4 separate regions of the Homo sapiens genome follow, and regions 1, 2 and 4 are each linked to region 3. Evidence: promoter capture Hi-C in 16 types of primary human blood cells and fetal thymus (Javierre and others, 2016). All regions are on one chromosome and are shown on one strand. The core of a region is centred on a gene start or on the middle of the fragment in contact, and the rest is flanking DNA. Distances in the headings are between cores, read along the strand shown.

What was found. The method cuts DNA at HindIII sites, captures the fragments that hold promoters and counts their contacts. A CHiCAGO score of 5 or more calls a contact.
Region 1: a contact is called between a fragment that was not itself captured here and the fragment with the promoter of EIF3J in region 3, in 3 of 17 cell types (endothelial precursors, megakaryocytes and M1 macrophages). The highest score is 7.5, in endothelial precursors.
Region 2: a contact is called between a fragment that was not itself captured here and the fragment with the promoter of EIF3J in region 3, in 3 of 17 cell types (megakaryocytes, endothelial precursors and erythroblasts). The highest score is 5.7, in megakaryocytes.
Region 4: a contact is called between a fragment that was not itself captured here and the fragment with the promoter of EIF3J in region 3, in 1 of 17 cell types (endothelial precursors). The highest score is 6.4, in endothelial precursors.

The regions. Positions count from the first base shown.
Region 1 is chr15:43,865,926-43,872,958 of GRCh38, forward strand. FRMD5 (FERM domain containing 5) reads right to left here. Exons shown (of 14, transcript NM_032892.5): 14 at 4,839-7,033. It overlaps WDR76 (WD repeat domain 76), which reads left to right. Exons shown (of 13, transcript NM_024908.4): 13 at 203-2,487. The coding sequence ends at 467. Among named protein-coding and RNA genes, the nearest start is that of WDR76, 42 kb to the left of the region's middle. The HindIII fragment of the contact is 4,197 bases long and covers 2,638-6,834 here.
Region 2 is chr15:43,840,285-43,847,461 of GRCh38, forward strand. It overlaps WDR76 (WD repeat domain 76), which reads left to right. Exons shown (of 13, transcript NM_024908.4): 6 at 2,131-2,232; 7 at 2,344-2,387; 8 at 3,617-3,770. Among named protein-coding and RNA genes, the nearest start is that of WDR76, 17 kb to the left of the region's middle. The HindIII fragment of the contact is 2,674 bases long and covers 2,560-5,233 here.
Region 3 is chr15:44,533,246-44,540,055 of GRCh38, forward strand. EIF3J (eukaryotic translation initiation factor 3 subunit J) reads left to right here and starts at 3,902. Exons shown (of 8, transcript NM_003758.4): 1 at 3,902-3,992; 2 at 4,079-4,182. The coding sequence starts at 3,950. It overlaps EIF3J-DT (EIF3J divergent transcript), which reads right to left and starts at 3,678. Exons shown (of 2, transcript NR_034170.1): 1 at 2,798-3,678; 2 at 1,260-2,229. RefSeq lists enhancers at 2,570-3,357, 3,045-3,494 and silencers at 3,665-3,834, 4,025-4,334, 4,355-4,404. The HindIII fragment of the contact is 7,095 bases long and covers 1-4,468 here.
Region 4 is chr15:43,883,920-43,891,487 of GRCh38, forward strand. It overlaps FRMD5 (FERM domain containing 5), which reads right to left. Exons shown (of 14, transcript NM_032892.5): 9 at 4,890-4,953; 10 at 4,256-4,347; 11 at 1,762-1,836; 12 at 808-876. Among named protein-coding and RNA genes, the nearest start is that of WDR76, 61 kb to the left of the region's middle. The HindIII fragment of the contact is 1,578 bases long and covers 3,240-4,817 here.

The sequences.
Region 1 (7,033 bases), core at 3,486-5,985, 670 kb before region 3:
TTTTAGATGAGGAGGATATCGTCTCTGTCCAGAGGTTCAGTCCTGTAAGGATGAGGTAAGGTTGGTGGTAACTCAGTAACTTAATGAGAAGAAACTTGGCAGAGAAAACTAGCATTTAGGAGCAATGCCGTCTTTACCCTCTGCCCAATGCTACCTTATTTAACCTTACTTCATTTAAAAAATATATTGTTTTCCTCACTAGGCACAACACTTTCACTGGGCGATGGCTGACCAGGTTCCAAGCCATGTGGGATCCTAAACAAGAAGACTGTGTCATAGTTGGCAGCATGGCCCATCCACGACGGGTAGAAATCTTCCATGAGACAGGAAAGAGGGTGCATTCGTTTGGTGGAGAATACCTTGTCTCTGTGTGTTCCATCAATGCCATGCACCCAACTCGGTATATTTTGGCTGGAGGTAATTCCAGCGGGAAGATACATGTTTTTATGAATGAAAAAAGCTGCTGAGTTTTTGGTTTAGGAACATCAATTTGTTCAAATTGACCACTGTCTAAGGAGCCTAGTAATCGGCGTGCCTTAGTGTGTTTATGTGGTAATGTGTTACATTTAGCAATTATAACATTGTTTTATTAATAAGACTATAAGAAGAGTGTACTTTTAGTAAGGGAGAAGTCTTGGAGGGTTGCTTCTGCAGGACGGGGAGGGAATTTGAGGGGAGGCTGAGGTGCCGTCAGGACTTTTTTTTTTTTTTTTTTTTTGAGATGGAGTTTTGCTCTTGTTGCCCAGGCTGGAGTGCAATAGCGCGATCTTGGCTCACCGCAACCTCCGCCTCCCAGGTTCAAGCGATTCTCCTGCCTCAGACTCCTAAGTAGCTGGGATTACAGGCACCTGCCACCACGCCTGGCTATTTTTTTGTATTTTTAGTAGAGATGGGGTTTCATCATGTTGGCCAGGCTGGTCTCGAGCTCCTGACCTCAGGTGATCTGCCCGCCTCGGCCTCCAAAAGTGCTGGAATTACAGGCGTGAGCCACCATGCCTGGCCATCAGAACTTGTAATCAAGACAGTATGTTGAGAAATTCTAACATTATAAATTACAAAGCTTTGACTATTAAAGTTTTTGTGATCTAATGATACAGTTTTGATTCTATAGTAATTTGTGGCTTATTTTATAGTTTATAATGAATACTTATTTCTAGACTCATACACTGGAAGGGGACCCGGAAAGGTAATGTAACTCAGTGATTTTAAAACTTGATTTTTTTAACTGAGAACTTTTTTTGCCCCCTGCCTGTAGGTTAAGTCTTACGTGAAATGCCAAGATAATTGCTGAGCAGCTTTGGTTACCCAGGGCGGGGTCTGGGTCTGTCTGTACTTTGCCTTTACTCTAGATGGCTCCTGAGACACAGGCAGGACTCCCAAGCACCGGGTTGGGATCTGCCCTGGTCCCGGCATTCCAGTATAAGATTGCCTCAGACCTGTGTTTTTCAGACTGGGTTTTTGCTCTTCACATGAAATCAAGTTAGATGACAATGACTGGTGTTGAAAAAAATGAAAAGGAAAGAATTTGTAAAGAACAGAAAATATATTTGAGTAAGTATTGTTTGGTAAAACTTAGTTACATATGCATATATATTTGTTAGGTATATATGTTTATGTGTATTCTGATGTAAAATATATATATATATATATTTTATTACTATAGTACCATGGGTAATGGATAAAGAAGTTAAAGCTACTGCTTAGAATGAAGAAGGCCCCAGGCTTACCTGTCCCGATCTTTAAACTGTCCGAAGGAAATTCAATAGCCTGTTAAGTGAATACCTTCATTCTTACTTGTATTTGGGGGAATATTATGAAATACTCACCACTTTTGGTATTTTATGAAAATGTTTTCTTTTCAGAAGTTATGGTAATTTCAATGTGTTTGTTGTTGGGAGGGGAGCTGCCAAATCAGTTACTAATATTACTGTGTGACATCTATCCAACTTTTTTCATTATTCTTCATTGCCAAATACTGAAAGACTTGTAAATGGCTTTGGCAATATGTTTGAATTCTAAGAGGAAATATTTTCCCATAATTGTATATCAGAGAAATATAGTGATATACAATTTCCTTGAAAACCAATTTCTAAATAATTTTCTTCTCTGTAATCTAAGTGTAAAAAGGTTTAGTTTTTTAATAGGTTTAGGTGTTTATAAGCAATAGTTCTCTATTTTCTAGTTGATATAAGTAGAAGAATTGACAAGTGAGATGGAAATGTTAATTTATAAAGGGAAAGAAAAGCTAGGTGAGGTTGAGTTATAATTAAACTGTTCAGGAAACATCGTAAAGGCTTTAGGCTCCCTTTTTCATTTCTATACCAATTAATCTCATGGGTTCTAGAGTGGTTAGTTCTACGGGAATTGTTTTTGTTTTTGTTTTTAAAGATGCTGAAAACTACTCTCAATCAAATTAGTACCATCATTTAAGCTTTGAATACTTGGCAGTAATTGCCTGGGCTCGTCAATAAATGTTAGCAAATTCTTGATGTTCCTCACTTTTGTGGTTTCTTTTGCCATTGTGGCTTCATAAACAGTGCTATTTATATTCAGTTATACTTTATAGAGTTATATCTTCAGGCAGTGCAGGAAGGAAGGAGAATGAGTAGGGACTTTTTTTTTTTTTTATTGGTGATAAGCTTTCTAATGGAGTAATTGTTTAAATCTAGACAGCACATAAAAGAAAATTGTCTCCCTTGGGACATTCTTACACTGTAATCTGTAGTGAAAGGTACTTCTCCCACAGACTTGCCTACAGCTGTGTGGCTTCTGTAATTATGTGTGTATTATGATTGCCTCCTTCGGGATAAGCCTTTTCTGTAAGTTTGGCCTTTATGATATCTCTTAAGCTCTGAATTCCGCTTGAGTTTTTTTTTTTTTTTTTTTTTAAGATACCCAGGCTTTTGTTATGTAACTTTTAAGGAAGGAGCAGACAATTCTCATTTTTGGTTGTCAGAGACTTTGTCAGACTAGGAGAGACCACAAATGATTAGGAATTAATAGAATCTGAGTTGCTTAAGTCCTATTTTAGTATTCTGGTCTTTGAGCTTCCTTTCCACCAAGAAGATTTTGCAAGGGGAGTTCTCCAGGAAAACAGGGAGCCTTAGGGCTATGGATACAAGGATTTAAATCCTTTCAGCTAATGTACAGTACATGGGGTAGGGTGGGGGAGAAGACACACATGCCTTCTGAATCAATCTGAGAAGAGGAAATATATGCCCTCTAACTTCAGATTCCAAAAACTTCAATGTCCTATTGGGCGGTCCTTTCTGACTTAGTACATTTCCCCCTGCTTTTTAGTAGGGTGTTGATGGCTAGAAATAACAAGACAGCAGATTGTATTTTGACTTATTTGGCTGTAAATACTTGGATTTTCAAATGAAAAGGTAGAATTTATGAGGAAGATAACATTTAGTACACTTACACGGAGCTGAAGAACAAAACATTTTATGATACATTTTCCCCAAAATGGAAACTGGGCAAGAGGAAATTTATTAAAAGGGTGCTTTGCTTGTTTTACTCCATTCCATCAGCAGGTCGTAGGGGTCTGAAGAGGAAGCCTGTTCATGAGCTAAAACCAAAAGTGTGTTCAGGTGCAGAGGAGCTAGATTGTGCTAGAGGAACCCAAAGCAGAGGGAGTAGGGACTAGAGTCCTACAGGGGTGTGTGCACAGGTAGTTCTTGATAAGCTGTCAGCAGAAGGGAGGCTGCTGTGAATCGGCAGGGCCACGGGAAGCCACCCAGGTCCAGTGTTTCTTGTGCTTTTTACTCTTTGGATCACTTCAAGCAAAATCTTATGTCATAAAAACAAAAAATTCCGCTGGGGATAGGGTGCTAGATAGCATTTTTTAGGTAGTGGGTACCTCTGAAATTTGGAGGTAACATAGCCTGATTGGTGTTTAGGAGGATGATCTGGCAACAGAAATGGGAGAGTGGAGGGCAGGCAGAATTGAAAAGACAAAGATTAGGTAAGAAGCTAGCACAGTGGACCAAGCCCCCATTATCACCTCTTATCCTCATGGAATTTAGAAGACCATTTCCAATTCCGTAGCCACAGAGTGATGGTTACATAATCAGATGAGATAATGCTATAGGGATATATTTTGTAAATATGTGGTGGTGGTATCATTGTAGTTCCTTCTTAGAAAGTATTTTCTGTGCTCCCACTTACTCCAGGCTTGAGTAAGAACAGCAGACCAGAAGGTGGACAATCTGGGTTCTAGTTTGGACTCTACCACTATGTAATCTTGGGAAAATCACTTAGTCTTCTTGGTTTTCCTCATCAGAAAAATACCCAATTCACTTTAAAATTATTACATATATAGCTTCTCAGTTTTTTTTTTTTTTTTTTTTTTTGATGTGGAGTCTTGCTCTGTCACCCAGGCTGGAGTGTAGTGGTGTGATCTCAGCTCACTGCAACCTCCGCCTCCCAGGTTCAAGCGATTCTCCTACCTTAGCCTCCTGAGTAGCTGGAATTATAGGCGCCCGCCACCACACCTGGCTAATTTTTGTATTTTTAGTAGAGACGGGGGTTTCACCACGTTGGTCGGGCTGGTCTTGAACTCCTGACCTCGTGATCCTCCCGACTTGGCCTCCCAAAGGGCTGGGATTACAGGCGTGAGCCACTGTGCCTGGCCGCTTCTCAGTTTCTAACAGTATTTATCTGGGGGTAAGGACAAGGATAATAGGTGGATACAAGCAAAATAATTATGTTATATGATCCAAGTGAATAGTAGTCAGCTGTGTAAATCCCACCAGTATCCTTTTATCTATGTGTTAGTAACTTTAAGGGAGGAAAAGTAAGACAGGCTATTATTAAAGAAAGAGCCCACTCTTCCATGATATTTAAATATTTATTTAAGTTTAAAAATAATCTTCATGGCACCAATGATTTTATGCTAACTACATACTGCATATGTAGAAAAAAGTACATTGCTTTGAAGGAAAATGTAACTTAAGAGTTTTTGGCACACAGAAGGTTAACAACTATATATTTTTAAATGTATCTAAGAAATTCACATTTGCAGGTAGTTTACCCTCTACTGCTTAAAGATGCAGTATGCTATTCTTTAGTAAGAGTTTTATTTCCTGATAGATGAAGCTATGAAAACCATTGCTTTTTCTACAATGAGATAAACTAATTTTGAGAGAAAATGAGAGACATGTTAGAACACAGTATAACCAGGTTAAAAACTTGAACAATTTTTAAAGGTGGAGATATACCAAAAAAGACTAGTCACCAATCAAAGGAGGTTTATTATTCAAGCACTATTTGAAAAGCAAACTGAAGGAAACTTTTCTATCCATATTTTCTGGGATGAGCCCTGGAAAAAAACAACCCTAAAGTTTCTGTTTACAGAGCAAAATTTAGCTGTTAGAAATGGCATAGACTACTGTACTGTTAGAACTCTAGACACAAGGAACATACTAGGATATGGAATACTGCATCTGTCTCTAATGTGAATATGAAAGGTCAGAGTTGAGGCTATCACTCACTGCATAGAAACACCAGATTCTACAAACTGAGGTAGGAGCACTACACTAAAAGGTAATCTTCTATGTTGCATAAGACAGTAGATACCAGGTGGACACCAGCCCCCTGTCTCCTGACAGCCTTTTCATCTCTGGGTCTACTTTTCACGTTAGTCCTGTGCTAAATAAAGCCTTTGCTATGTAGATGACAAGTGGCAGTGGCTAGTTGATTTTAACTGACCCCTAATCTCTACTAGGATCTCCTTCGGTTTGTATTGTCACTCGATAAATAGATGTTTATAATTCTGCCTAAATTGTTGCTGGTATGAAAATGGTCAGAGAAGCCCTCTTCCCTTCTTAGATTCCAGCTGTGTTTTAGCATTCCAGTATTTGATCTTGCCCATTTGGCATCAGACATCTCTTTGCTGGTTAGTTGTTCAAGCACCCTTTAAACAAGCAACCCTAGTGCCTCCACTGGGAAGAGGTCCCAGATCTTTGATACATGTCAGGCATGGAAACAGAGCTGACTGACCCTCTTCTGCTAACATACTGGTAAGGATCAGTTTTATTGTCTAGAGCAGGATTGGCGTATTATGGCCTGTAGGCTAAATTCAGCTCACTGTTTTCATAAAGTTTTATTGGAACACAGCCATGTTCCTTCATTTACAAATTATCTGTGGCTGTTTTTGTGCTGTGATGGCAGAATTGAGCAGTTGTGACACAGTATGGCGTGCTAAACCAAAATATTTACTGTGTAGCACTTGACATAAGTTGATTGACCTCTGGTCCAGATGAAAGGATGTCTTTAAAATTATGCAAATCTCTCCCTAAGAACCCCAATTATTCCACAGTTGTCATATTGTAAACATGGACATGGTTCTACCATCTCGGGGGACAAAATAGGGGAGGTCAAGTCTACAAGTGACTTGTTCTGTTCTGCGTTTGGGGCTGTCCAATTAGGGTATCAGCAGCTGCTCTACTTTTGTGTGGGTCCAGGAATATGTCCATTGACCACCCTTAAATAAGCCCTCAAGCCCCAGATGACTTAGAAATCTCTCCCTGAGATGAAAACAGGATCTTGTGTGTGATTGGTTTTAGAGTTGAAGAGCTTGGGCCTAGGATCCCACACTCGCCCTTCATATGCCTGTGCTGCGTGCTTCGAGGACTTCCCTCTGCAAGGATGGTGATGCTTTCCTAGAACTTATGCAGAGGATGACCCTAGGGGGCAGCATTTCTACATCTAAGTGTTGGTCTCTGCCACGGTCACATTCTGTGTTTTGTAGGCATCTCTTAGAAATCTATTTTAAAAGATTCTTTTCCTGGTCCCTTCTAAGGCTGTTGATCTTGGAATTCTATTTTCTGAAGCTTTTCATTCTCAGGATCAGTTTCTTTCTTGCATCGTTTAGTTCATCAGGCTCTATTTTCTTAATCCATAAAGTAAAAACAAAATATGAATTGTTAAGAAAATAACATTTCGTTGTTAAAATATAAATTGAAATAGTCTTTGGGTCAAGGGGGTGTATATAAAATAAGCACTGCTATCCAAATCTCAACAGTCTCTC
Region 2 (7,177 bases), core at 2,647-5,146, 690 kb before region 3:
AAAAAAAAGTCAGCAATAATAGAACCCTCAGTAAATATGTACAATTTTATGTCAGTTTAAAAAAAAAACCTCAAAGAGCTACTGTAAAGATAAATGAAATCATATCTATAAAGTTTCTCACATATTAGGGGCTTAGTAATCAATAGAATATAGTTATTAATGTTAATAAATACGTGATAATGTGTAGTTTTAGTGAGTAGAGTTTTATTTAGCAAACATTTTCTAAATATTTTTTATTCAAGAACACCTATTTTTAATACTTTATATGTAAGTGTTTAATTGTAAATAGGAAGATAGCACTAATTAGGCTGGTGTTTTGGGAGCAAATTGCAAATCTAGGTGTTATGGGAAGCAGCATAGAAGAGTAGCTTCAAATTTTTTTGAAGCCTCAGCCCACAAGAAATATATTTGTGGCCAGGTGTAGTGGTTCATGCCTGTAATCCCAGCACTTTGGGAGGCTGAGGCAGGAGGATCGCTTGAACCCAGAAGTTTGAGACCAGCCTAGGCAACATCAAGAGACCCTGTTCTTACAAAAAAAATACAAAAATCAGCTGGGTGTGGTGGCATGTGCCTGTAGTCCCAGCTCCTCAGGAGGCTGAGGTGGGAGCATCACTTGAGACGTTAATTTAAAAATATATATATATATTTATTTACATTGTAACTATCACACATATATGCAACTGAAACCACAGTTTGTCAAACGACACTTAATACATGTGGTGCACTTTGGTATTTCTTTTTTTTTTTTCTTTCTGAGACAGAGTCTCCCTCTGTCACCCAGGCTGGAGTGCAGTGGCACAATCTCAGTTCACTGCAACCTCCGCCTCCCGGGTTCAAGTGATTCTCATGCCTGAGCCTCCAGAGTAGCTGGGACTGTAGGTGTGTGCTACCACGCCTGGCTAAGTTTTGTTTTTTTGTTTTTTTTTTTTTTTTTTTGAGACGGAGTCTCAATCTGTTGCCCAGGCTGGAGTGCGGTGCTGTGATTTTGGCTCACTGTAAGCTCTGCATCCCAGGTTCATGCCATTCTCCTGGCTCAGCCTCCGCTGGGACTATAGGCACCTGCCACCACGCCCGGCTAATTTTTTTGTATTTTTAGTAGAGATGGGGTTTCACTGCGTTAGCCAGGATGGTCTCAATCTGACCTCATGATCTGCCCGCCTCGGCCTCCCAAAATGCTAGGATTACAGGTATGAGCCACCGCACCCGGCCCACGCATGGCTAATTTTTGTATTTTTAGTAGAAATGGGGTTTCGCCATGTTGGCCAGGCTGGTCTGGAACTTCTGGCCTCAAGCTATTTGCCTGCCTCAGCCTCCCAAAGTGCAGGGATCACAGGTGTGAGCCATGTACCTGGCCTGGTATTTCTATTCTATTCTCATTCACTACAACAAATTGCTAGTTGTGACATACTAACATGATTTCTCACCCACTAATTGGTTACAAACTGTTTAAAAAAATACTGATGTAGGTATAATACTGAGTAATGAGTTAAGATAATCTGAGTCAATTCTCAGCTTCTCCAGTTATTGGCTGTGTGACTTTGGGCAAGTTAACTCCTCTTAAGTTTCTGGGGTTTTTTTGTTTTTGTTTTTTGTTTTTTTTTGAGATGGAGTCTTGCCCTGTCACCCAGGCTGGAGTGCAATAGTGCAGTCTTGGCTCACTGCAACCTCCAACACCTGGGTTCACACGATTCTCCTGCCTCAGCCTCCTGAGCTGCTGGGATTACAGGTGCCTGCCACCACGCCCAGCAAATTTTTGTATTTTTAGTAGAGATGGGATTTCACCATATTGGCCAGGCTGGTCTCGAACTCCTGACCTTGTGATCCGCCTGCCTCGGCCTGCCAAAGTGCTGGGATTACAGTCTCTAAGTTTCAATCCACTGTCTTTAAAATGTGATACCTCATTTGCTAGGTTGTTGAGAGGATTAAATGAGATAATACATGTTATTATTACTTTATAGGGTACCTGGCATTCATTTATTGAACAATTATTTTGAATGTCCATGATATGCCACCATTACTGTTGATGTTGAAAGTGAAGTTGTGGGGAAAACAGACAAATACCCTTGCCCTCCTTGTGTTTATATTCTAGGGCAGGGAGCCCAACAAATAACTTTTTATTTTTTATAACAGCCTTTGTTACCTCCTGGGCCTTTAGAAATGACTTCTGAAAATCAAGAAGACAACAATGAACGATTTAAAGGATTTCTGCACACATGGGCAGGAATGAGCAAGGTATCACTTGGGAAGGCCAATAGCCTTTAGAATCATCTGTTAAGGAAATATATATATATGTAAAAATATATACATACTAACTTAGTTCTTTCATCTCTCCCAATGTTTCAGCCAAGTAGTAAGAACACTGAGAAGGGATTATCTAGCATTAAAAGGTAAGTTGAAATTCCTTGTGTTTCTTTTATATTTTTTGAGATGTTTGAGTTATAAAGACTATACGCCATTTTAGGGAATTTTGAAAGTGAGATGAAATGTTTCCACCCTAACAACTGTTGTTTTTGTGTATTTCCTCACAAGTGTTGCCATATACAATACCACTAGGATATAAGCTTCATATACAATACCACTAGGATATAAGCAAGAATTCTATTTCAATAACCAGAACAGTGCCTGGCACATAATATATGTTCAGTGTTGAATAAATGAGTGAATCCACATACATTTTTACTATATGTTGTAATGTATATACAATTTTGCATTACACTTTTTTCTTTTTCTTTTTTTTTTTTTTTTTTTTTGTTTTTTGAGACAAGGTCTCCCTCTATCGCTTAGGCTGCAGTGCAGTGGCACTATCTTGGCTCATTGCAACCTTCGCTTCCTGGGCTCAAATGATCCTCCCACCTCAGCCTCCCAAGTAGCTTGGACTACAGGCGTGCACCATCACATCTCACTAATTTTTGTATTTGTAGAGATGAGATTTTGCTGTGTTGCCCAGGTTGGTCTTGAATACCTGGGCTCAAGTGAGCTGTCTGCCTTGGACTCCCAAAGTGCTGGGATTACAGGTGTGAGCCAGTGTGCCTGGCCTGCGTTATGTTTTTTTTCATTTGCGGTTGCATGTTACTAGAGTCTTTAAAATTATTGAATAATTATAAAATATTCCATTGAGTAGAAGGAGTTCACTTCTCCTCCTACCTGCTTGGTATTTGCGGTTGTTTTCCATTTAGCTTTGTGTGTTTGTGTATGTGTTTGTTGAAGTATATGGATATGATAGTGGATTATTTCTTTAGGTTAGATTTCCAGAAGTGAGATTAATGCATCAAATATTGTGAACATTTTTATGGCTTTTAGTACACATTGCCGAATTGTTGCTCAAAGGTCTTTTTTTTTCTTCTGAACATTTTATATGAACTTACTCTTCCACTAGCAATATGTGTGAGTATGTGTATTTAACTGCAGCCTACCAGCTTTTGGTGTTATTAAAATTATCAAGGGTAATTTAAAAAGTGAAAGAATATTGCTTAATTTGATTTCCTTGGTTACCAGGAGATTGAATAGTTCCCATATTTATTTGCTAATTGTGATTTTTCTTTTTGAATAATCTTTTACTTATTTTGACTATTGAGATTGGTTTTACTTACAAAATTTAACTTTGTAATTTTCTTAGCTACAAAGCCAATTTAAATGGCATGGTCATTAGTGAAGATACCGTTTACAAAGTTACCACAGGCCCAATATTCTCTATGGCTCTCCATCCATCAGAAACTAGAACTTTGGTAGCAGTTGGGGCCAAATTTGGGCAAGTTGGACTTTGTGATTTGGTAAGTTATTAAATTTCTTGAATATATTATAGTTTGACTAAAGCAAATAGGCTGGAAGAGAATAGGCTAGAGCCATGTGTTTATAAATGTTGCGTGAGACTTACAATTTTGGGCTTTATGATGCTTTATGATTCCAAATTTTAGAAATCTGGAAGAATTTAAATTTGCTTTATAGAACTTTAATATTTTTAGCTTGAATATCATTAACCATCTGGTCATAAATTAACTGCCAGAAAACTTTGTTACACTTTGTGTGATCTTTTCACATATACATTTAAAGTGGCCGGGTGCGGTGGGTCACGCCTGTAATGCCAGCACTTTGAGAGGCTGAGGCGGTCGGATCACCTGAGGTCAGGAGTTCGAGACCAGCCTGGCCAACATGGTGAAACCCCGTCTGTAGTAAAAAAATACAAAAATTAGCTGGGCGTGGTGGTAGGTGCCTGTAATCCCAGCTACTCAGGAGGCTGAGGCAGGAGAATTGCTTGAACCCAGGAGACGGAGGTTGGAGTGAGTCGACACTGTGCCATCCAGCCTGGGTGATAGAGTAAGACTCCGTCTCAAAAAAAAAAAAAGGGCTGGGAGCGGTGGCTCACGCCTGTAATCCCAGCACTTTGGGAGGCCGAGGCGGGTGGATCACGAAGTCAGGAGATCGAGACCGTCCTGGCTAACACAGTGAAACCGCGTCTCTACTAAAAAACCCCATCGCTACTAAAAATGGAACAAATTAGCTAGGCGTGGTGGCAGGTGCCTGTAGTCCCAGCTACTCGGGAGGCTGAAGCAGGAGAATGGCGTGAACCTGGGAGGGGGAGCTTGCAGTGAGCCGAGATCGCACCACTGCACTCCAGCCTGGGCGACAGAGCGAGACTCTGTGTAAAAAAAAAAAAAAAAAAAAAAAAAAAGATCAAAGTTTAGTTTTCTTTTTTTGGAGAGGGAGTCTTGCTCTGTCGCCCAGGCTGGAGTGCAGTGGTGTGATCTCGGCTCACTGCAAGCTCCGCCTCTCAGGTTCACGCCATTCTCTTGCCTCAACCTCCCGAGTAGCTGGGACTACAGGCGCCTGCCACCATGCCTGGCTAATTTTTTCTATTTTTAGTAGAGGTGGGGTTTCCCCATGGTCTTGATCTCCTGACCTCGTGATCTGCCTGCCTTGGCCTCCCAAAGTGCTGGGATTACAGGCATGAGCCACGGCGCCCAGCCCGAAGTTTAGTTTTCTAGTTGTGTTTAAAATATGGTCTGCTATGGTCTGAATGTTTTTGTCTTCCCCAAAATTCATATGTTGAAATACTAATCCCTATGGTATTAGGAGGTAGGACCTTTGGGAGGTGATTAGGTCATGAATAAGATTAGTGCCCTTATAAAAGAAACCCAGGAGAGACCACTGTCCCTTCTACCATATGAGGACACAGCTAGAAGGCACCAACTATGAACCAGAAAGTAGGCCCTTACCAGACACTGAATGAACTGGAAGCTTGATCTTGGTCTTCCTAGTCACCAGGACTGTGAGAAATAAAATGCTGCTGTTGATAAGCCACTCAGTTTATGGTATGTTGTTTTAGCATCCCAAATGGACTAAGAAACAGTTTCTAAGCTGTATCAAAATATCTTCCCAGGGACCTGCTTTGGAATGATTTTAGTTATCTTTGATGAGTCAGAAATAGATACTGAATTCCATTCATTGTGCATATAATTCTGCATGAAATACTGTCTGTTATTACAAAATTGAGAAAAGTCAAGTTAATGTTCTCTGAATTTATTTTCTTATTGGGGAAGAAGACCAAAGACATGAAAAATGCCATAAGGACAATTAATGAAGGTGAAGAAATAGTGGTGACTTGAAGTTGGTTGGGGTTTATAAACAAAATTTGCAAGTTTGAAGACAGAAACCAAGTTCTTATTTTGGGATCATAGATTCTCCCTTATTTTGATAAGATGTGAGTGGGGATAGGAGGTGATAGGATTTAGCAAAGAAAACTGAAGCAAAAAAGTGGGAAGAAGATCAGAATAGTATGTTTTGGAAGCCAAGAGATGAGTTTCAAGGATGGGAGGTTGACAGAGCCTTTTGCAGAGAAGTTAAAAGAATGGAGAAAAGGCCATTGATTTTGAAAATAGGGTACCATGTAGTGAGTTGAGAGAATAGCTTTGACAATGAGGTAAGTAAGGAACAAAGGCTTTAGGAGATTAAGGAAGTATGGGGGTAATGAAAGAACTGGAGAAGCATTGGATAGAGACTTTTTTTTTTTTTTCCCGCCCCTGAGATACGGTCCCACTCTGTTGCCCAGGCTGGAGTGCAGTGGCATGATCATAGCTCACTGCAGCCTCAACTTCCCACGGTCAAGCAATTCTCCACCTCAGCTTCCTGCGTAGCTGGGACTACGGTCATGTGCCACCACACCTGGCTAATTTTTTAACTTTTTGTAGAGATGGGTCTCACTATGTTGCCTAGGCTCATCTCAAACTCCTGAGCTCAAGCACTCCACCTGCTTCAGCCTCCCAAAGTGCTGGGATTACAGGTGTGAGCCACCACACCCATCTGAGACTACTTTTTGAAGAATTTTGCAAAGGAAAAATTGAAAATTAGCATGATTAAATGAAGGTTTTTTTTTGGATGAGTTGATCTGTATAGATTTAAGACATACATAAAAATCCTTTTTTCATATCTTTCATGATGACTCCAAAAATCTGTATTACAGCCGGACGCGGTGGCTCACACCTGTGATCCCAGCACTTTGGGATGCCAAGGTTTGGCGGATCACCTGAGGTCTGGAGTTCAAGACCAGCCTGAACAACATGATGAAATCCCATCTCTACTAAAGATACAAAATTAGCCGGGCATGGTGGCACATGCCTGTAATCCCAGCTACTTGGGAGGCTGAGGCAGGAGATTTGCTTGAACACAGGAGACGGAGGTTGCAGTGAGCCGAGATGGCGCCATTGCACTCCAGCCTGGGAAACAAGAGCAAAACACCACCTCAAAAAAAAAAAAAAAAAAAAAAAATCTGTATTACTAGGTCTCTGTAGTCCAGTATCTCCATCAACCTAATTTTCCAGGACATTTGGCAATCTCATTAACAGATTTAACAAGTCTAAAAGCAATATTACCTTGTCTATCCTGTGCTCACAATTTCCCCAGTTTTTTTAAAAAATGGCTTCATTGAGGTAATAATTTACCTATCATAAAATCCTATTTAAAAAATGTAAAATTCAATGCTTTTTTTTCTTTTTTTTTGAGATGGGAATCTTGCTCTGTCACCCAGGCTGGAGTGCTGTGGTGTGATCCTGGCTCACTGCAATCTCTGCCTCCTGGGTTCAGGTGATTCTCGTGCCTCAGCCTCCTGAGTAGCTGGGATTATAGGCGCTCGCTGCCACACCTGGCTAATTTTTTTTTTTTTGAGACGAGTCTTGCTCTGTTG
Region 3 (6,810 bases), core at 2,652-5,151:
TTACAGGTGTGAGCCACCACGCCTGGCACAAGTTTTACAGACTAAAGGAAGTCCCTAATACATAGGTCTAGAACCTTGTTTTCCTGTTTCCTCATTTGAAAAAGCAGTATGCACACCACTATAAATAAATTCTCAATTTCTGCTTTGAAAACAATGCTGCATACACATAGCCCATGAATTTTTCCATAGCACCTTCAACCCACATGCCCCAGTTTTTTTTTTTTTTTCTTTTCTTTTTTTTTTTTTTGATAGAGTGTCATCCAGGCTGGAGTGCAGTGGCACAATCTCAGCTCACTACAACCTCTGCCTCCTGGGTTCAAACCATTGTCCTGCCTCAACCTCCCAAGTAGCTGGAATTATAGGCATGAGCCACTATACCTGGCTAATTTTTGTATTTTTAGTAGAGACAGGTTTCACCATGTCCAGGCTAGTCTCGAACTACTGACCTCAAGTGATCCACCCACCTCGGCCTCCCAAAGTGCTGGGATTACAGGCATGAGCCACCGCGCCCAGCCTTCTTCTTTTTTTTTGAGAGGGAGTTTCGCTCGTCGCCCAGGCTAAAGTGCAATGGCGCGATCTTAGCTCACTGCAACTTCTGCCTCCCGGTTCAAGTGATTCTCCTGCCTCATCTTCCCGAGTAGCTGGTATTACGGTGCCCGCCAACATGCCCAGCTAATTTTTTTTTTATTTTTAGTAGAGATGGGGTTTGCCACATTGGCCAGGCTGGTCTTGAACTCCTGACCTCAGGTGATCCGCCCGCCTCAGCCTCCTAAAGTGCTGGGATTACAGGCGTGAGCCACTGTGCCCAGCATTTTTTTTTGTTGTTTGTTTTCAGATGGAGTCTCTCCCAGGCTGGAGTGGAGTAGCACAATCTCGGCTCACTGCAACCTCTGTTTCCTGGGTTCAAGCAATTTTCCTGCTTTAGCCTCCTGAGGAGCTGGGGTTACAGGCATGTGCCACCACGCCCGGCTAATTTTTGTATTTTTAGTGGTCTTGGGGTTTCATCATGTTGGCCAGGCTGGTCTTGAATTACTTCAAATGATCTGCCTGCCTCAGCCTCCCTAAGTGCTGGGATTACAGGCGTGAGCCCGTAATAGGCGTGCCTAACCAGTTTTCAGGTTTTTGACTTAAGCAACTAGATAAGTGTCACTCAATATCCAAAGGCATCGTCTATCTATTTCTCCCTTCCCCTCCTCCTTCATATCTAGTCAGACACTATATTAGTACGGGTTCTCCAGAGAAACAGAATCAATAGGATGTGTATATGCAGAAAGAGATTTATTTTAAGGAATTGGCTCACATTATTCTGGGAGCTGGCAAGTCTGAAATCTGCAGGGCAGACAAACAGCCTGGAGACCCAGGGAGATTTGACGCTGCAGTCTGGAGGCTGAATTGCTTCTTCTTAAGGGTCTCGTTTTAATTTGAACTGACCGGATGCGGCCCACCCTCATTATAGAGGGTAATGTACTTTAATCAAAGTCTGCTGATTTAAATGTTAATCACATCTAACAAATACAATTCATAGCAACAACTAGACTAGTGTTTGACCAAAAACTGAGTAACATGGGTAGCATCGCCTAGCCAAGTTGATAGATAAAATTAACCATTAAAGTCACTAAGTTCCATTGACAATGACCTTTAAATATTTCTCAAGTTGGTTTCTTCTTCTCCATTGCCATTGCCTTAATTTAGGCTTGTGTTCTCGTTTAATTAATTCATAAAATACTTACGTATTAGGCATTATGCCAAATGTTGGAGATACAATTGTGAGTAAGATTGTGTCCTTAGGGACTTACATTCCACCCTTTTCCTGACTTCTTTCTTGCCTCCTTCCAATCCACATTTTTTTTTTTTTTTGGTCTTGTCACTTTGATGCCCAGGCTGGAGTGTAGTGGCCAGAACGTGGCTCACTGCAGCCTCAACTGCCTCAGCTTCCTGAGTAGCTGGGACCACAGGACCACAGGTGCACACCACTATGCCTGGATATATATATTTTTTTGTAAAGATGGGGTCTCACCATGTTGGCCAGGTTGGTCTCGAACTCCTGGGCTCAAGCGATCCTCCCGCTTTGGCCTCCCACAGTGCCGGGATTACAGACGTTGAGCCACCGTGTCCGGCCCTGATCCACCTTTATAAATGGCTGTCTGTAGATCATGGCCTCTCACATTTTAACTGGGCTGTAGAATATGTATTGAAGGATCATCTTTATAAAATGTTTATTTGTAGACTCTGAAAAGATAACACCAGAAAGGGGGAACAATGGTTACCACTAGAAAGAACGGAGCGGAGCAGCTGATCGTTGTATCTACCTTTTTTGTTTTTTTTTTTTTTTTGAGACGGGTCTAACTGTCGCCCAGGCTGGAGAGCCGTGGCGCGATCTCGGCTCACTGTTGCAACCTCCGCCTCCCGGGTTCAAGCGATTCTCCTGCCTCAGCCTCCCTAGTAGTGGGGATTACAGGCGCCCGCCACCACGCCCAGGTGATTTTTGTATTTTTAGTAGAGGTGGGGTTTTACCATGTTGGCCAGGCTGGTCTCGAACTCCTGACAGCAAATGATCCGCCCATCTCGGCCTCCCAAAATGCTGGGATTACAGGCGTGAGCCACCGCGTCCTGCCCACGTATCTACCTTTTTATCACATGAATGTTGTACCAAGTTCGCGTATTACATATTTGAAAATAAATTGCGAAAATAACAAAAACAAAATCCATCTACTGGCTAGCTCTTTAAAATCCTGCGGGGGAGCCCAGTGGCCCAACGGCGAAGTTTAGCCCATCTTGCCCTTTCTGGTCAGTGTACCTGTTCCATTTATCTCTGACTGCGCCACTCAGTCAGGTGAGGGACCACTGGAGTTTTCTACCGGAAATGCACTTCAGCAAATGCCACTTGCTCTCTCCAACTTCAGTTTCAACCAGCGCCTACCTCAGGAAGCCTTCCTTCATCCTCCGGCCCCCGCCGCCGCTAAGGTTATCCTTTTACATTCAACCTCATAATGCTGCTTTTTGTGGCAGTCATCACAGTGTCGAAATTTGTTTACATGTCCATCTTTGCTACTTGATGGAGGGCAAAGATACACCTCATACCTAGCATAGACCCCAGGAGGTCCGAAATTGTTCTGCGAAAGAAAAAAAAATCAATGTGCTGGCCTCAAAGGGGCTCACAGGAAGGGAAAAGCCTCGAAGACTAAGGCTCTCTTCGATTCCTTCGTGACTAACTCGAGGCAAACATGCCAGGAACGCGGCTCTCCCCACCCGCTCCTGCATCTGCGCCCGGGGATCGCCGGATTCCAGAGGGGTCCCCTCCACCTAGCGCGCGACGACTCCCTCTGGGGTCCCGGAAGCCCGGCCACCGACCCCACAGGCGGGCGTGGCCTCAGAGCCCTCTTCTGAGCACGGCGTGGGTATCCGCAGGCGGCCATGGACGGTGATCACAGTGACCAGAGGGACAGCGCACCCTCCGGTCGAAGCGGGGTAGGCGTTGGCAGGGGAGGGGCGACGAAGACTGGCGAGGTTCAGGCGCCAGCCAAAGAACCACTCTGCTAACTTCCTGGCACTTACGTTTCCTACCCGGGGCCCAGAGTCGGGCGGCGGTCTTCCAGCACCACGAACTCCAGTACTGGTCTGCGTTGTAGGGAGCTGGAAGCCCGACCCAGCACTCCTCAGCCCCCTGTGCCCCTCCCTCTGCTCTTTCCGCCCCTCCCTCCGCCCCCCTCCGCCCCCCCCTCCGCCTCTCCCTCAGCCCCGCAGCGCCACCGACCGCGTTCCCCGCCCACTTCTTACCCGCGCGCGTCGCCGCCGCCGCCTGAGGGGGCGTGGCCTCGGCTCGGCGCACAGTCAGCCACGGTCCCATCCTGCTCCGCGCCGGTCAACGAGAGCAAACCCAGTGACTCACCTCCGCCGTGCTAACTCCTCGCTAGCTCTCCCTCTCACACACGCTCACACCCGGCTCGAGATGGCGGCGGCGGCGGCGGCGGCGGGGGACTCGGACTCCTGGGGTGAGGAGAAGTTGCTGGGGCAGGGCCCGGGCCGGCGCCGGCCCCACGCAGTGGCAGGCACTAACACGGCTCGCTTTCTTCCGTAGACGCCGACGCTTTCTCCGTGGAAGACCCAGTGCGGAAGGTGGGGGGCGGCGGCACTGCCGGCGGGGACCGCTGGGAAGGCGAGGACGAGGACGAGGACGTCAAGGTGGGTGCGGGCTAGGGCGCCGGGCAGCGCGGAAGCGGGCTGGCGCTGTTGCCGGCCGACTCTGGGCCCCGGGTCGCTGCCGGGGCCTGCGGGCCGTGGGTCCAGGCGCGAGCATAGGGCCTGGCGGTGCTCTCTTCCCCTCCGCTTGCCGGCCATGTGTGGGCCGAAGACTGGCAGCGTGGCCTCCCGGACTCCCTCGCCGGTTGAGAGTCTGCTCTCCGGCGTGGATCCCACCCGCCGGCTGGCGACGAAAGGTGACAGCATCGGCCGGGTCGGCCCACGTGCAAGCTTCGCGGTCCGGAGCCTCTCGCAGGAATGAGACCGGGAAGTTGGGAATTGAGCCTTGTAGCTTATCCATATGGAAAGCCTTGAGACTCGCCTGTCTTTTCGAGCTCAAGTCAGCCCAGGGCCAGTAACTCATTTATGACCCTGAGGTCTACTTATACAGTTTGTTCGAGGGATTAGATGAGTGAAATATTGTAGTTGAATTTCAACCTTTTTTTCCCACACGAGACAGCTAGAAACAGTAAAGGGAAATAACTTTTGGCTCTCCCTTCCCCCACCCTGTGGTAAAAAGAATGAACTGACCACTGAGATAGCCCGCAGTTAGTGGACAGAAACCCAGGTAGTTCACACCGTGACCTGAGAAATGGAGAGACGACAGTTACTCAACTACACACATACGACACCTAAGGAAATATTGAAGATTTGGTGGTGGTTGTAGATGACGGGCCCGTGGTTTTTTGTTGTTGTTGTTGTTTTGTCTGTGCCTTGTAGATAATCATTTTTACCTCAGTCGTTTGATTTTGAAAACTCCGAAGGGTTCATTATACAGCTGTAAGTGACATTTACTTCTACATGGTTTTTTTTTTTTTTTACAGTAGTTACAGAAGTCTCAAATCCAAAATGTTAAGACTCTTATTAACAAAGTTCTCAAAATCTTGTTATATTTGTGCAGATAAAGTTTTGTGTGAAATGGAAAATGATTTTTTTTTGTGGTTTTGCCTAATTTAGTGAATTTCTCCTAATTTATAAACACAAACGGAGAACCCTATAAATCCTGCCTGGGCTGAAAAGTTTAAGCTAGATAATCACTATGAACTTAATAGGAATGTTGTTTTGAGTTTTTCTGTTCTCTCCCCAGTCCGATGAGGTTGGATGTGTGGATGTCCGATTTACTGACAGCCTGAGGTTCAAGAATGTTGTGAGCTTTGCACACATTGAAGTTAATAAATCGACTGGTTATTGTTTGAAGACACTCAGATGCTTTATTTACATGTTGTAGAAACATGGGACTAGATTTTGTTACCAGCCGCATTACAAGATATTAGTTACCCCTCTACATTGTAGCAGATTTTCAGTTTTGAGCCTTGGGTTCATATTGGTCCTTTCATTTTTTTCCATGCATATAGGAAGTGGCAGTTAAGACATCTGTTATGAAATTTGGGAATAAATTAACAAATGCAGAGAAAAGATTAGAGATATTAGGAAAGAAGTTGCAGAAAATGAAGTTTTAATGGATAGTCTAGACTAATGTCATGGAATAACTTCCTTGGGATTAAGGGATCTAAATGGTATCGATCTTGATGAATATAATTCTTTTTTTTTTTTTTTTTGAGATGGAGTTTCGCTCTTGTTGCCCAGGCTGGAGTGCAATGGCGCGATCTTGGCTCACTGCAACCTCCACCTCCTGGGTTCAAGTGATTCTCCTGCTTCAGCCTCCCAAGTAGCTGGGATTACAGGCACGCACCACCACGCCTGGCTAATTTTGTATTTTTAGTAGAGACGGGGTTTCGCCATGTTGCCCAGGCTGGTCTTGAACTTCTGACCTCAGGTGATTCTCCTGCCTTAGCCTCCCAAAGTGCTGGAATTATAGGCGTGAGCTACCGTACCCAGCCTCTGATGAATATAATTCTGATCACTTGGAACAAGTTTTGGATATTTACAAGTTGTAAGGGACCACAAAGATTATCTTGTCCAGTTGCTCTTTTTTTTTTGGAAATGGAGTCTCGCTCTGTCACCCAGGCTGGAGTGCAGTGGCACAATCTCCGCTCACTGCAAGCTCCGCCTCCCAGGTTCACTCCATTCTCCTGCCTCAGCCTCCCGAGGACTACAGGTGCCCACCACCACGCCCGGCTAATTTTTTCTATTTTTAGTAGAGACGGGGTTTCACCGTGTTAGCCAGGATGGTCTCAATCTCCTGACCTTGTGATCTGCCCGCCTTGGCCTCCCAAAGTGCTGGGATTACAGGCGTGAGCCACCACACCCGGCCCCAGTTGCTGTTTTAGTGCTAAATTTCTTTTTCTTTTTTTTTTTTTTTTTTAACTTAAAGCAATCTATCTATTCATCTAATTTTTTGAGAGAAGGTCTCACCCCGTTTCCCAGGCTGGAGTGCAGTGGCACGATCTCTGCAACCTCCGCCTCCCGGATTCAAGTGATTCTCCAGCCTCAGCCTTTCTAGTAGCTGGGATTACAGGTGTGCACCGCCGTGCCCAGCTAATTTACATATTTTTTTCTTTTTTTTTTTTTTGAGATAGAGTCTTGCTCTGTCACCCAGGCTGGAGTGCCGTGGCACGATCTTGGCTCACTGCAACCTCCGCCTCCCAGGTTCAAGCAGTTCTCTGCCTC
Region 4 (7,568 bases), core at 2,779-5,278, 650 kb before region 3:
CTCTCTCTTTTTTAAAATCTTTAATACCTTCTCTTTGCCTTTGGTCTCTGGATTCCAGTCAGAGATAGTGCTTCAAACTCCTCCACCTCTTTGTAACCCTAGACTCATCTGAACCTTTTTTTTAGTGTGGCAGCAGTGCCACTGGTCTCTGGGGTGGGGGCAAGACTGTCAGAGAGTAGAGCCCCAGGATGAGCAGTACTCCTGAAAATATGCCTGGACCAATACTGGCAGCCTCCCCTGACTTCCAATAGAGGCTGCTGATGACAGGGCTCCATGTGAAGGGGCAGGCAGTAATGCTCCCCTTCCCAGAGGCAAAGGCTGGTTGGCAAATCCTACCCTTCTTGGTCAGTCATATTCTTTCTGGGTCTTAGATTCTAGGAGATAGGCTTCTGGAAACACAATTTGTGGATCTACATGAAGCATGGATCCTGAAATTATTTTAGAGCCAGTGTGGCAGGGCTGTGGGACTATCCTTGGCTTCATATGATCGACTGGTTCCAGAACCACTGAAATTGTGTGACACATCTATGATCAGTGTCAAGACTAGGGAGGGCAGAAGAGAATTGCCAAGTGAAGTGGCACCTGGATCTGATGTACTATCTGCAGTAGCCCTTCCTCCCTCCCCAGCTCTCTTATTAAGGGTCAAAGACTTCTCCCCATCCCTCTGAGAAGTTTCTTCAGCCTTCTGCTCCATTTTGGACTTTTTGGTAGCCACTGGAGCCAGGGGCTTCACAGTACTCAAACTGCTGGATTGAGATTCTGGGATCTGAGCTACAACTGTTTGGGGGGAAGCCCCTGGCAGCCTACCTGTGTATTTCCGGTGGCTCCCGTTTGATCTTAGCACTTGATTCCATGACTTCCTTTGCAACTCGGCCACTGTAAGTAGTGTAATAAAAACAAGCAGCAAGAAATGAGACTGTGTTGTAGGACAGCTCCTCTCCAAGATCTTAGGTGCTTTCCCTGAATCAGGAAATGGCATCTGTGGCCCACCCTTTCCCTGATGTTTTGGTCATGGAGAAAGGCTTGCTTGGTGGGGTAGACTTCTAAACTGTCATGACAGCCTATCTGAGAGAACTCTCTCCATCTCTAGAGTCTTTAGGATCTTCCATTCTCATTTAGGAGTAATTCCTCATTTTCCAGCATGTTCCAATTACATCACAAAAAAACACATAAGAACAACCTTTAGACAGTGAGACATGAATCACTGTTATAGTTCTTATTTTGCTATTGTAAGGGAAAGAGAAGATACATATTTATTTTTCATTTTCTTGGAGACAGGGTCTTGCTCTGTCTCCTGGGCTGGAGTGCAGTGGTGCAATCATGGCTCACTGCAGCCTCGACCTCCTGAGCTTAAGCAATTCTCCCACCTCAGCCTCCCAAGTAGCTGGGACTACAGGTGTGTGCCACCACACCCAGATAATTTTTTTTGTATTTTTAGTAGAGATGGGGTTTCATCATGTTGCCCAGGCTGATTTCAAACTCCTGGCCTCAAGTGATCCACCTGCCTCAGCCTCCCAGAGTGCTGGGATTATAGGCATGAGCCACTATGGCCGGCCAATATACATTTAAAACCCTACAGACAAATTGCTGTAGGGAAGGAAGGAAATAGTAAAAGGGTCATAAGATGGGAGAATTAGATGGAGACCTCAGACTTTTCTGAGTCCTCCCTGGTTTCTCTGTTCTAAAGGATAAGGACCACTGAGTTCTCCAGAGAAGGGTCTGAAAATAGATCCATAATGGTTACTTACTGTCACTATTTACCTGTATCGGAACCGGCTCCCTTTAAAGAATAAATTGCTGCTGGACACTGTGCGGACTTGGCTTGACTTCTCCAGCCTGTAGCAAGGCAAAGTCCAGTGTGATAGACAGCCTGAACTGCCTCACACAGGTTAAGGCAGCACATCCCCAGCTTCTTCCAAAGGCTACTTGAAACTTCAGGAAAAAAGCCCTTCATAGTCCACATTTGTCTCTGACTCTCATTTAGGATCTGGGGGCTGTGCTCACAGCCAGCTGCTCTCCTGCCTCAGTGCCCAGGACTGTCAACATGGAAACCCATTTTAGTGTCAGGAGAGTGAAGGCTCCCCCAAAATGCTTCATAGGTTTTACCAGGGGGACTGAGAGAATACATGCTCGGGTGGATGGTCTTGGGGAATAATAGAATGCCCATCTAATCTCAGCCACGTCACTTATTAGCAGTGTGACCTCGGGCAAATTTCCTTCTCTCTTAGCCTCACCCTTTTTATAAAATGATAGAGCTGGGACTACTGGACCTTAGGGGTCTCCTTTCCAGTCCCAGTATTTGATTTTGTGTCTATGTCTGGGTAATTGTGGGTGGAGAAGAGGGTGGGGGCTGTCTTTCCTGTTCCATCTCCCTTTTGGAGGGTCCTAAAATACATGACCACAGTAAAGACAGAAATCCTGCGATGAAGAAACTAGCTTAACTTTAATAAAAGTCCGTCATGTATTTGAATTTGGAGCCTTTCTCCCTCCCCCAGGATATCTATTTTATATCTCGTTTGAAGCTGCAGACAGCCGATGTGGAGCTCTGTAATACTTTCTCCTGGGTGACTTCACTGAGCCCATTAGCTCTCTCAGCTTGGGCACAGCAGCTCAGAGAGAAGCCTCCTAAGATGGGATCCACCTGTAACATGCCCAGGTGCCTATGGTACTGATCCAACCAGTAACCTATGTGAGTCTGAAACCTGTGCTATGAGCAGTGAGTAGGAGCTGTTTCCACAATCCATGAACAGTTCTTGGGAGACACCATCCCTGCCCGTCTCAGGGCTCCAGGACATCCGAGCTGCTTACTGGAGCCTGGGCATGTTCTTGCATCTGACTGGGCTCCTGCCATGGCACTAGGCCAAAGGCAGGACTAGGGATCTGTATGTGAGAGACACTGAGGGCAAGGCCAAAGCGCTGCTGCCAGAGACTTGACATACCTGGGGATCTCACCCAGGCTTTTACCGTTTGATGAGAACATTAAGGAGGCAATGGAAAACTGAAAAATGACCTCCATTTCCAGTGTGGGTGCAGGCAGGGCTGGGTGGGTAGGGAGATCTACTCGTGGGAAGACTCAGAAACTGAGTGAGGTCACAGGTTCAGAAGCAACACTTCTGTTTCCGTGACACAGATGGGAAAACCAAGCCCTTAAGAAATGCTGCTGAAGGCATGAAAAGACAAGAGGCAAGGAGATTGCTTCTGTTTGCTTCTTCTCTACCCTTTGGTAGAGAGAAAGGGAAAGCTTCCACATATGCCATTCCCAGGGCAGGGATAGTTCAGTGTGGAGCAGGCCCCTGTCGGCTAGTGCCTTCCTCTCTCTGCTGCGGAGACCCGTGGGACCCCAGTTCTTGGGCTGCTCCTCAGTCCCACAGGCAGGAGCTTGCATCTCAAGTTGCTTCTCTCTAGGTTCAGGTAACTGGCCAAACCTGGATTACATCCTCACAGGCAAAGGGAGGGTGGTAGCAAAAGAAAATAAATGTTTTCTTGACTTTCTATGGACAGTAGGGACTGAACAGGAGGGAAGTGTGACCATGCCAAAGTCTCCCGAGTATATTCAGGAGAAGAAAGGCTGCCGATTCAGTGAATCCTTGGTTCTGGTATAAACACATAATGGGAATTAAGTAATTCAGAATGCCTGTCTAAGAAACAGCTTCTGGGGCTGTGGCCCTGGCAACTGGGAGGACCCAGTTCTGCCAGCCAGCATCCCATAGCAGCCAGCAGGCAGCAGAATCTTCCCTGGAGAGAAGTATGGTGCCACTCATCCCAGAGCAGTTCTCATCTCTCCAGGATCCTTCAGGTTACTGGAACTGGGACCTGGCCAATCAGGGGCATTTGGTGAGAGCAGGGCTCACCCCAGGTAGAATATACCACACTCTGTCTTGCCTTGACCTCATTCAGATACATCTTAGTAAAGCATAAATCATTACGGTATATTTTTAAAACAAGACCAAAGGGCTTAGTGAGACATATTTTACCTGGCATCATGCCCTCAGTGGGCCATTTCTTCACTACCTAATGCTTTTATAACCACTTTCTTAACCGAAGAAAACAACACAAAAGCCCCACATTCTTTACAAAATCCCTTTGGTAGGCAAAGCTCTTGCCTTTGGCCTCAACCTGGCTTCTCAGTAACTGTCAAGCTCTTGCCCACTTCCAGCTACCCCGCCCCAAGTTCCTGGGCACTTGGCCTCCTGTCACCGACTCTCTCTGACTCTGGCTCTAAGAAAGACAGTCCCCATCACATGTATCCACTCACTTGTAGAAGGCTTGGTTCTCGATTCCACATTTCCAGAGGTGCTTACACGCTTCAGGAGTTGGAGCAAAATATGTAAGAATAATTTTCTTTTCCTGCAAAAAATTCCACATTGATATGGCTGAGTGTGGATGGAGAAGCAAAGGGTGAAGTAGGCGAGGACCCTGACCCCAGAGCTGTTAGAGGCCCTGGCAGCTGGCTAGTTAGAGGGGAGGGCCTGTGGGACCCACTGAGGCAGAGCTCAGTTAAGTGCATCACATCATACTTGGCAAGTCCAATCAGGGTAAGTCTCAGCTGGCACAAAAGTGGCACAAATTGAACCAGGAGAGCTCTTGGTGAGAAAGTTGCCCTTGCCTCTGGAATTCCCATATACACGAAAGAAAAAGAGCCTTCCTTTGCATTTCCTGGAGGTAAAGATCTCTTGAGTGGAAGCTCTGGGTGTCAATAGCATCCCTGAGGAAGTCCTGTGCTCCAGGGCCTTCCCGCTCCTTCATATTGTACCTCCAGGTCCTGACCTTGGTCTTGGCTTAGTATGTGGGTAGCTTGGCTCTACTGGGGTCCCTCAAGCTTGGCTCTGGCCACCAGGAAGCATCCCATCACCCCAGCCCTCCTTGAAGAGAAGGAAGCCAGCACTCACCTCTTTCTGACTTACGTATAAATAGAAAGTCTTTCCTTCAAATTTCAGCTTGGTCACCTCATTCCTAGAAGCACAAAGATAGTGCCTGTCACCTCATTGTGGGCTGCTTGTTCACAGCTAAATCTTGTAGATGCACAGCCCACCCCAACTGGAAGGGGCTCCAGGCACAGACACAATTTTAGCCAAAATCAGAACTGAAACAAGACAGCAGCGCAGTGGCCTTAGAGAATGTTGTTGAAACAGTTCAATCCACAGTTTTCTGGTCAATCACACTATAGTAATAGGGTGACAGGAGGATTTCGGGCTTATCAACAGTGGCTGTAAAAGGGAAACATTTGCATGGAAAGTGAGTCTAGGTAGAGTATCTGGGGTCATTTCAGGATTGGGTTCATAACACAGGTGCATTATCTGGATGGGACTGTCAAACGTAAGATGCCACAGGTAGCTGATGAGGCCAAAGTTCAAGATACAGCAAATAATGAGAAACAATGCAACCAGGTTCTGAGGGAGTTGAGTCTTTCAGGTGACTGTGCCACTGGATGGAAAATGCAGTTTAATGCAGACAAATATCAAACAATCTCAGGGAGCGGGGCAGGGCAACATACCAAAGAGAGAGAACAGATTACATGGAACAGTCATGCAGCGTACTGACCAGGAAAGGGGCTTAGGGGTTATTGTAGAAAAATCCTTGAAGCCACCAGCCCAGTGAATGGCTGCAGTAAAAGAGGCAAACAGGATACTGGGGTACATCACCCGTGGGACAGACACAAATCAGAAGAAGTGACATGGTTACTGTACATGGCACGGCCTAGACCTCACCTCCACATCCACCTCCTGCTCTCAGCCTTGGTTACATTTGCAAAACGGAAAAACTACTGGGTCTTAGGTGAATGTCCCTGAGAGCCATGGAACTAGGCCTCAGCACTGGTTGCTCCTCACTTCCCTTCTATCTGCCCAACATAGCTGCCCTCTGGAGTCTCTCAGCCCTCTCCATGTCACTGGAGGCCCCATTTTTCAACCCAACTGGGACCCCCAAGGCGGTCTTGTCATGCACATTCACCTCCACTTGGCTGCTGCTTTTTTTTGTAATTTCTAAGGAGATTTCCTTCATCTCCTAGGAAATAGTAGAAAGGTAGCGAGAATCATGTACCCAACTTACTGCTGGAAAAAGTTCAGGGGACAGAGGAAAATCACTTGTTCTCCATGCTCCTGAAAATCATGGCTGGGTCAGGATGAGATTTCACAACTTCTGACCACCAGTTCTGAGCTAACACAAGTCACACGGTATTCCTTCCCTGTTTGATTCCCTCTCAAACTCCCTCTCAATCAACCATCAATCTCATACACACACAGTACAATAATGCCAATTGGTTAATATATAGACAAGCACACAGATCACCTAGGTTCCAACAAGCAAGCTAGGAAAGTAAGGAGTTTTATTTTGAGAGTGAGATTGGGTTTACATCTATTATTACAGAGTTGACACATGGTGAAGAGGAGACTTCTAGAAGAAGTGGTGCATGAGAGAAGCCGTGGAAAGAAAAGTGTCTGTGAGAACCAAGAGCCATCATGGTTTCTGGAAGGGTGGGTATAATTTAGGGACTGCAGGTGTCTGTGACAGGTGTGTCCTACTTGTTTCTAGCCAAACATTCCCTCTAACAGGGACCTCACCCAACAGCTACTCTGGTTGGAATGTGGATCTGGGCCCTCTAAAGAATATCAAATAGCCCAGATGTATCCAGGCAGCAGAGACCCCACACTAGGAGGGCTGAGGCCTGATCCTGCTCATTGCCTTTTTCTGAAAAGCATTTTGTTGGACAGGAGATTGCAAATCCTCACATCTTCACCCAGAGAGCACAGTGAAGTGGGCCGACTTGAGGATGCCTAGGAAACAGGTATGTTGGGGTGTATTCTGGTAACTCCAGGGCAGCAGCTGCCTTGTGGCACGGCTGTTGTCCTGGGGAGTCGAGTTTCCTGTCCTGTGTGAGGAGCAGTTTCACCAGCACTCTGGCTGACGATCGTAATGCCCTCCTTCACAAAATCAAGGTGGGCTGGAAAGGCGGTATCTGTCCTCAAGCTCAAACTCAGTGGGGGAGCTGAAGAGGGCACAGCGGGATAGATGGTCTGCAGTGTCCCCAGCAGAACGCTGACTAGGAAGCAACTGTACTCAAGATTCCTCATGAGCTCTCCTGGAGAAGACAAACCAAACAGACTTCCCCCCACTGAGCTCTGCTGGACCAAGGGAAGCCACTTATCTAAGCCCCTAGAAGGAGCTGGCCAGCTTAGACTTGGCAGTCTGAGGCCCAGGAAGGTACAGAAATCACAAGAGCTTAGTAGAATATGCAAAATGTTTTGATGACGCTGACAGATGTTTGTATGGGCTGGCCAGCTAAAGGGTCTCCAGGAAAGCCAAATGTCAATCAACAAACCAGAGTCTGCCCAGAGGCATGCAGCAGAACAGACCCCAAATAAAACAGAGAGGGGCAGGAGAGGAAGCAGCTCAGAGTAGCTGCAGCTGAGGCAGTGGCTCTTGCCTGTTAGATGGGAGTGGAGAAGGGAGGGAAGGAAGAAAGAGTGGGAATATGACTCCTGGAAGCTGAGGACACTTAAATGCCCAAGAGGGATAGGAGTGAGACAGCAGCAACTGAGCTTTTGCAGACACGATGCCCACAGGGAGGG